Linked DNA regions of Homo sapiens: region 2 is linked to region 1. Evidence: promoter capture Hi-C in 16 types of primary human blood cells and fetal thymus (Javierre and others, 2016). All regions are on one chromosome and are shown on one strand. Each heading gives the region's core, a stretch centred on a gene start or on the middle of the fragment in contact. The rest is flanking DNA. Distances are from core to core; before and after follow the strand shown.

The links. The method cuts DNA at HindIII sites, captures the fragments that hold promoters and counts their contacts. A CHiCAGO score of 5 or more calls a contact.
Region 2: a fragment that was not itself captured here is called in contact with the fragment with the promoter of PTK2 in region 1 in 1 of 17 cell types (erythroblasts); the score reaches 5.5 in erythroblasts.

Annotation. Positions count from the first base shown.
Region 1 is chr8:140,998,186-141,002,709 of GRCh38, forward strand. PTK2 (protein tyrosine kinase 2) reads right to left here and starts at 3,097. Exons shown (of 36, transcript NM_001352702.2): 1 at 2,940-3,097. RefSeq lists silencers at 2,762-3,091, 3,112-3,531. The HindIII fragment of the contact is 6,005 bases long and covers 1-4,330 here.
Region 2 is chr8:140,450,535-140,454,907 of GRCh38, forward strand. TRAPPC9 (trafficking protein particle complex subunit 9) reads right to left here. Exons shown (of 23, transcript NM_001160372.4): 2 at 256-849. The coding sequence starts at 839. Among named protein-coding and RNA genes, the nearest start is that of TRAPPC9, 5.0 kb to the right of the region's middle. The HindIII fragment of the contact is 2,682 bases long and covers 249-2,930 here.

The DNA of each region.
Region 1 (4,524 bases), core at 1,847-4,346:
AACAAGAATTGATCTAGGTCTAAATCTACATCAGTTTAGAATGCCTAAACTGAAAATGTTAAATTTCAAAACTGAAACTTTATAAACACTTTGAAATGCATCTTTTGTAACTCAAGATAATTTTAATTATTTTCTAAAAATTAAGACATCATAAAATACAAGGGGAAAAAGGTTTCCATAACCTTTAGAGATATGAACTAAGATCCTACCTCTCTAACTCAAATCAACATTCAGGAAAGGACAGTTTTCAAAATTATTTTTTACATTATAGAATACAATATAAATAATTTCATCTACAGGACCTAATCTTTTTTTTTTAAAGAGGCTACCTTTAAAACAACAGGATCTTCAGGCCAGGCGCAGTGGCTCACGCCTGTAATCCCAGCACTTTGGGAGGCCAAGGTGGGCGGATCATGAGGTCAGGAGATCGAGACCACCCTGGCTAACACGGCGAAACCCCGTCTCTACTAAAAAATACAAAAAATTAGCCGGGCGTGGTGGCGGGCGCCTGTAGTCCCAGCTACTTGGGAGGCTGAAGCAGGAGAATGGCATGAACCCGGGCAGTGGAGCTTGCAGTGAGCCGAGATCGCACCACTGCACTCCAGCCTGGGCCACAGGGTGAGACTCCGTCTCAAAAAAAAAAAAAAAAAAACTATTTTCTTAGACAATTTCTCCAACTCCCTAGAAAGAACAGTTATCTGACTAGCTGGAGAACATGATTTTGAGGACTGAGGGAGTAAGTTATGTAATTTCCATCAAGAAGCATGGTGCTTTTCAGAAAACATTTTAGTATAAAACGTTTTAATGATCCTCACTGCCTCCTCACAATTTCACTGCTGGATTCATGGAACTTCACTCCTAATCTAACATTATTCACTTTCAATGGGCTTCCAGCCTCAAATAATAAGGCTTTTTAAGTCCCATCTCCTCTCAGAGTTTGCCCCAGTATTCTTTGCCCCAAACCGTAAACATGGAGTTTTGATTTCCATGTCTTTATTTAACCAATGACTTGCTTCTTGATGCATCACCACTGAATGATGTATGGGTCCTTCTAATCAGCGTCTACACTGAAGTCTTAGGTGATTGTCGGCTCCCTTATAAAGGAAGCATGTGTTTTAAATAATCTGTGCCTGTGTTCATTATTAAACTAGATTATTTGATAGTGACCTGAAATTCTTTAAAGGAAAACCTTGTAATATTGATCTTGTTGTTTCTGCAGTTTAATAAACAAGAAGGTTCAAAATGATGGTAGGTTCAGCCTGTTTTTCCCCACCAAGGATAACCACAAATACAAAACACAAAGATATTGGGACACAAACATCCTTAAAATGTTCCTTGTTTGAATATCATAGGGCTTTTCTAATTAATTGGCTAGTATAACTGGATGAAAATATTATCTATACTGTACCCCAACAAAAATACGTTGAATGCTAGTTTACTTTTATGTGTCTTGTAACTAGTTCATCCGTGTGCTTGCATCGCACTGCTCATAAGTTTTCAAATATGGGACGGAGTGCTCAACTCTCGAAGACATCATTTTCATTACCCGTTTCCCAAATAAAATATTAAGGTTGAGGCTCTGGTATTTCATTTCAAATAGTACTGGTCTGTTTTTCCAGCCATGAAAACGTTTACATTCTAAGTAAAAATCCTAGCGATGGTTAAGTCTTAAATACAAATCCCCAAACTCTTGCACTGCCTTCAGCTTTCAGCTTGAATGTATAACCAGTTCCCATAATTACTACAATATTACTATTATCTTAGTCTCATTGCCAAAAACCCAGCTGCAGGCTAACTATGCAAGAATGAGACACTGTTGAAATGACTCGGAAAAAAAAAAAAAAAGAAACTTTACCCTCACTGAATTTAGCTACAAAATTCTGCAATTAAATGAAACCAATTCACACACACACACACACACACACACACACACACACACACCCCTTCTTCTAAGAAAGAACAGGATGCCGCTACACAAGGAACCCAGAGAGAAATTCGGCAAACAGTTGCGCCTAAGCCACCGCGGCAGAGTCGGGGGCTGGGGGCGGGGAAGAGGAGAAAACTTGGGAAGCACAATGACTCCAGTGAGGACTTCAGTGAGGGCTCCAGGGCTCCCGCCAAGAAGCCCACGGGGCTCTACCAAACTTGAGGGTTTGCGTTCGGGGACACGGCGGGCTTGGGGCTCGGGCACCGGCAGGCCGCTCGGAGCCCACCCTTGGCTGCCCGCGAGGCCGCGCCCGGGGGACGGAGGTCGGGCCGTCGCGAGCCTCCCTCTCGCGTCCGGGCGAACCCTGCCGACGTCCCTGCGATTTCCCTCTTCCTCCTCCTGCCTCTCCCCTTTTGTTTTTCAGGCATTGGGTCCGCTCCGGCGGAGGCCGGCCCGTCCTCCCCGCGCCTCTGTCCGCCCTGCGCGCCCCCAGAGCCCCGGCCTCCTCGTCTTCCTCAGGCCCCTCGGCCTCTCCGCGCGCCCGGCCTTTTCGAAAGCCGCCCCCCCCTTCCTCCTCACGTCTCCCGGACTCCCCACGTCCCCCAGCCTTTCTGTCTTCCCCGAACCCCTTGGCCTCCCCGCGCGCCCCCAAAACCCCCGACCTCCTCGAGCTCCCGGCCTCCCCACGTCCCTCAGCCTCCCAGTCTTCCCCAAGCCTCCCGACCACCCAGCGCCCCGAACCCCCGCCTCCCAGCGCGCCCCCTGACCTCCTTAAGCCTCTCGGCCTCCGCGAGGGCCCCCAACCTCCTCACGGCCACCGGCCTCCCCTCCTCCCAGAACCCGGGCCGGGGGCGCGGGAGGGGCCGGTCTCCGCCGCATCCGCCCCGGGACTGGTTGGGCGGCCCCGCTCTGCCCCTCCGCCCTCAGGGCCGCGGCCCAGCCCACGACCGCTGCACAGAAGGAGCCCGCCCAGCCCCCGACCCGCGCCCCGCGCCCGGCGCCCCGCACTCACTCGGACCGCGGCTCGGCGCCGTGAAGCGAAGGCAGACGACGACGGGGCGGCGCTGGGCGACAGCAGCCGCGCTTCCTCCCACGCCTCACGCCGCGGGCTCACAGTGGTCCGGGACCGGCGGCGGCGGCGGCGGCGCGGGCTCGCGCCCTCGAGGCCGTGCTGCGTCGGCGCGGGCCCGCGCGCGTGCGCGGCAGCCGGCTGAGGCGCGCGTCCTCTCTCGGCAGCGCACGCCCGACCCGGTCTCAGTCCGGAGTTCCCGCCTCTCGGGGGGACTGGGCATGCGCGCCGCCCCCGCGCATGCCCAGCGCGCCGCTAGGCTCTGCTCGCGTAATTTGTCCTGTAGTGACCGCGCCGGGGTTTCGGGGTGGCCCGAGGCTGCGCGCGGGCGTGGCGGCCGGACGAGGAAAGCCCTGGTCTCGGGGGTGGCCGGGGTCGCCCCGCCGAGCGGACATCCTGGGGTCCCACCTGCCTCGCTCTCCGCCAGCGGGATTAGACGGACTTCGGGAAAGTCCTCCCCATCTCCTTCCCTGCCCCCAAATCCCGAAGGGGTCCCCTCTGGAGAACCTCCCTCCTGAGCGGCCCTGCGGCCCCGCCCCCAGAGTTGGACGCCCGCTGTCGGGCACCCGCTGCGGGCCCCGGGCCTTGCAGTGCACTCTCCAGGCACCACACCGACCCTAACGAGCGGTTCCTGGGCCCTTTTTGCAGACAAGGAAACTGAGGCTCAGAGATTCTTTTCATGGCATTATAGCTAAGTTGGGCTGGGCCATTATTTGATTTTGGAAGATGAAAAATCATGAAAGGGACTTAGAAGTCCACTGGAGGTAGACAGGTTACCTAAATGAACGCCAGCAGGGAACGAGCCCTGCAATCCCTCCCGAGGGCTACAGACCTGAGACGGGCTCCAGGAAAAGGAGGGAAGGCTCGCCCCGACACCGACCCGGGCTTCCGCGGTGTGAGCCAGTTTCAGCGAGGAGCTAGTTGGTTATGACCGGAACGTGCCGTAGGTGGGGTGGGGGAAATAGCAAAAGGCGAGGTTGGAGGGATTGAAAAATGCAGACGGCTGCGTGGGGCTTGCTTAGGTGCCTGGAGTTTATTCTTTAGGCAACAGGGAACCTTTGGAGGGCTTTAAGCAGGAAGTGATAACTGATTTGTGTTATTTAAAAAAAAAAAAAAGTCACTCTGGCAACCTTGTGGTCGGAAATGAAACCAGAAGAACCCTCAAGGCTGCAACTTTCATTTTTATGGTGTCATTTTGATGCTAACCACAAGCCAGGAAGCAGGACAGACAGGCACCGAGGCCTTTTGAAAGGTGAACACCCTGAAGCCCAGAGAGGTGACACACGTCATTGCATTAGGAGCTTTTATAAAAGTAAAAATGAAGTAAAATAAAAAGCTTTTGCTTATCAAGATTTTACCATATTTAAATGTTTGGGTTGTATTGTTCTTTAATGAGATGTATTAAGGTTGGTGTTTTTCTGGGTTTTGTTACTTTTTACTACATATGAAATTGTAAGGAATTGCCTCTCCATGCCAGCCTCAGGCCTTTGCGCGTGCTATTTGCTCTGCCTGGAACTTCTTGCTCCTC
Region 2 (4,373 bases), core at 340-2,839, 550 kb before region 1:
CACTAAAAAGAGGGGAGTGTACAAGACAACTCTAAAGGACTCCCCCAACCAAAGGCTGTCTCTGTCTTTAAAAGTCACTGGTTTTTGTTTGGTTGGTTTTTTTAGCAGCACTCAAACAGATTCTGACAGAAAGTCATTAGTTTTAAAAACCAATGGACAACACCTTTCTACTCCTTGCTGCAATGAAATTCTGCCCTGTGCTTTCCCTTTCTGATGCAGGGAAGCCAAGGGGCCTGGGTCTCTAGGTAAGCTTACCTGCTGTCTGTGTCCAGTCCTACAAAGTCCTTTTTCTCAAACGGGACACAGAGAAGGGGGATCTTATCCCCAGACTTGTCTGTGGCTCTGTCCAGACGCTTGGACTCCAGCACGATGAACAGTGACTCGATGAAGTCCTCGATTCTCTTCTCCACCGTCTGGCAGTCCTCGTAGTTGGGGTAGAAAGCCACGTCGGTGCGCGGCTGCTCCACGATCTCCCCCTGCAGCCCGAAGACAAAGAGCCGGGAGTCATACAGTGTGGAGCCGTAGATCTCCTTCTGCACGTGGAACTTCTCAAAGGTCTGTGGCCAGTCCTTGGCCGAGAAGCAGTCTGTGATGGTGATGAGGCCCACGACTTTGCGGTGGGTCTGGAAGTCACCCCACTCGTTGTTCTCGGGTGGGTAGTGGTGCCTGTAGCGGATGTAGAGGACTCGCTGGGAGTCCCGCACGCTGATCTGACTCACAGAGCAAATCCTCTTATAGATCCTGAAGAAGTTCTCCTCGGAGACGATGCCCACAGGCTGGACCACCACGAGCAGCGTCTGGTGGTCCTCAGCACACTGCATGTAGTCAGGGACGCTCATTTTGAAGTCCCTGTTCAGAGAGAAGAAATGAGGCTGTGAGACACAGAGTCCTGAGTGCTGAGAGCCTACCCTGGGAGGCAGTGACTGTGACCTTCACTACCCAGAGGCAGGGGAAGCCCCAAGGAAAGCCGTGGCATCAACAGGTCTTAGGGCTCTACACGTGGCTGTCGCAGCTCTGATCATAATGCTGTAACTGTTGACCTTCAGTCCCTTGGCCTCAGCATGGAGCTTCTACAGAAATGGGGCTGTTTCTTGTCTTTCTATTCTCACCACCTAACCAGGAGTAGTAAGAGTCAGTGCTCAAAAATGTCTGTTGAGTGAATGAATAAACACGTGTGTAATTGCTCCCCCATCCCCTCAACAGGATATTAAGAAAAATCCACCATGCAATCACATCTGGATTTGAATTCCGGGCTCCCTGGAACTCCTCAGCTACAAAATAGTGGTGATAATAGAACTTGTCTTGGCCGGGCATGGTGGCTCATGCCTGTAATCCTAACACTTTGGAAGGCCGAAGCTGGCGGATCACTTGAGGTCAGGAATTCGAGACCAGCCTGGCCAACATGGTGAAACCCCACCTATACTAAAAATACAAAAATTAGCCGGGTGTGGTGGCACGTGCCTGTAATCCCAGTTACCCAGGAGGCTGAGGCAGGAAAATCACTGGAACCCGGGAGGTGAAAGCTGCAGTGAGCCAAGATTGCGCCACTGCACTCCAGCCTGGGTGACAGAGTGAGACTCCGTCTCAAAAAAAAAAAAAAAAGAGGCGGGGCGCAGTGGCTCACACCTGTAATCCCAGCACTTTGGGAAGCTGAGGCAGGCAGATCACAAGGTCAGAAGATCGAGATCATCCTGGCTAACATGGTGAAACCCCATCTTTACTAAAAATACAAAAAATTAGCCCGGCGTGGTGGCAGGCACCTGTAGTCCCAGCTACTTGGGAGGCTGAGGCAGGAGAATGGCATGAACCAGGGAGGCAGAGCTTGCAGTGAGCCCAGATGGCGCCACTGCACTCCAGCCTGGGCGACAGAGCCAGACTGCATCTCAAAAAAAAAAAAAAAAAAAAAGAATTAAAAGAAAAAGAACTTGCCTTATAAAACTGTATCTAGATTGAGGAGGTTGCGAATGTAAAGGGCCTAGCATTGTGCCTAACATAAAAGGAGAGATTACACAAATATACCACCTTTCCTTTATAAATGGGAGAGTTGCCATAACCTCTCTGAGCCAATTTTGTCAGATATAAAAAGAAAACGTTATTACCTGATTCCCCAGAGCTGGGGAAAAATTAAATTAGATGACCCACGTGAAAGAATCTGGCTCATAGGAGATCCTCAATACATGTTTGTTGAAGGGATTAGTGAACAAACAAACAAATGAACAATCCAATGAATGCTGCCCCCAGCCTACAGACGGTCATGATGGAAATCCCACTGCCTGGAAGTCAGGGCCGATATTCAACTCCCAGCTCTACACGCACGATCTGGGTGACCTGGAGCAAGCCTGTGTGCTTCCCTGAACCCTAGTTTCATTGTGAATAAAAATGAGGATAGTAACACATACCTCAAGGTGTCAGCAAGTCAACATTCTGGTTGTGATAACATACTGTGGTTTTGTAACATGGCACCACGGGGGGAAACTGGGCAAAAGGTATATAGGATCCCTCAGTATTATTTCTGACAAATGCACATGGAGCTACAACTACTATAGTCTCAAATAAAAAGTCTAATTTTTTTAAAGGTTAGGGAGATTAAATGAGCTCTCTGTATCAAATAAGAAAAAGATGCCTCGATACACACCTCCACTGTCCCCATCAGTGGGCTGACACTTCCTGAGGGGATTTGGCCATGGTCCCCATGGCCAGAGGCAGCTGTACCATGAGCTAATGGGGTTCAGCTTCAGGCCCCTTCCATGGCCCTCTATCTAATTTTGCATTTTTAATTTTGTTTTCTTTTTCTTAAATAGGAAGCCCAAAACTGCATAACCTTCAGGTCACCAAAGCCTGACTGCAGAGATCGTGGCAGTAAAACCCTCCCAGGTGACACTAAGATTAAAGTGACATTGCTATAAGACCTCTGTGAAATTCTAATGGCAAGCTTCTCACCTGCACGGAGAGGAGGAGGACTGTGTGTCGGGGGCTATCCTGGACATCACAACCCCACCTCTACAGACTTCAAAAATACACATGGATAGAGAAGTATGAACAAAATTAAATTTTAAAAAAAGGAAACCCTAGCCTCCCAACATGTCTTGCTTCTGCCCAGGATCTAAACGGTTCACAAGTATATTACATGTGTGTGACTCAGCCCAAGTCCCTGACTCCAGTGCTCACGCTCTCAAGGACGACGCCCCACTCTCTCCTGCCCTTTCCCCACAACGATTCCCTAAAGAGTCTTTTCTGCACACAAAAACCACCTTCGAAAGAACCAAAATCACATCACCTTCCAACAAAGAGGCATAAAACCCCTCGGAGGACATATCAAAATACTGAGCGGGGGAGACTGGAGCGCTCATGTTTCTCAAAAGTAGGCACAGGTTTAACAGAAGCTGAGAAACACCGAAGCCTTCATTCTACAGAGGAGGAGAGCGCGGCCCACCGCAGGTAACAAAGGGCCTTATTTTAGAAGTATCATCTCGGCCAGACACGGTGGCTCACACCTGTAATCCCAACACTTTGGGAGACAGAGGCGGGAGGATCACTTGAGGTCAGCAGTTAGAGACCAGCCTGGTCAACATGACAAAACCCCATCTCTATTAAAAATACAAAAATTAGCCAGGAGTGGTAGCACACACCCGCAGTCCCAGCTACTCCAGAGGCTGAGGCAGGAGAATTGCTTGAACTCAGGAGGTGGAGGAGGCAGTGAGCCAAGATCACAACACTGCACTCCAGCCTGGGTAACAGAGCGAGACTCCATCTCAAAAAAATTAATAAATAAAAATGATTTAAAAATAAAAACTATCGTCTCATCTAAAAAGCAGCATAATCAGCCGGGTGTGGTGGCTCACACCTGTAATCCCAGCACTTTGGGAGGCGGAGGCAGGCAGATCACTTGAGGTCAGGAGTTGGAGACCAGCCTGACCAACATGGAGAAACCCGGTCTCTAATAAAAATACAAAAAATTAGCCAGGCGTGGTGGCGCATGCCTGTGATCCCAGCTACTCAGGAGGCTGAGGCAGGAGAATCGCTTGAACCCAGGAGATGGGGGTTGCAGTGAGCCGAGATCACGCCACTGCACTCCAGCCTGGGCAATAAGAGTAAGACTCCCTCTCAAAAAAAAAAAAAAAAAAAACACAACCTGACCTCACACCTGTGATCTCAACACTTTGGGAGGCCAAGTCGAGTGGATCGCCTGAGGTCAGGAGTTCGAGACCAGCCTGGCCAACATGGCAAAACCCTTTCTCTACTAAAAATACAAAAATTAGCCAGGCTTGGTGGCATGCACCTATAATTCCAGCTACTTGGGAGGCTGAGGCACGGGAATCGCTTGAACCCAGGGAGGAGGAGGTTACAGTGAACTGAGATCACACCACTGCACT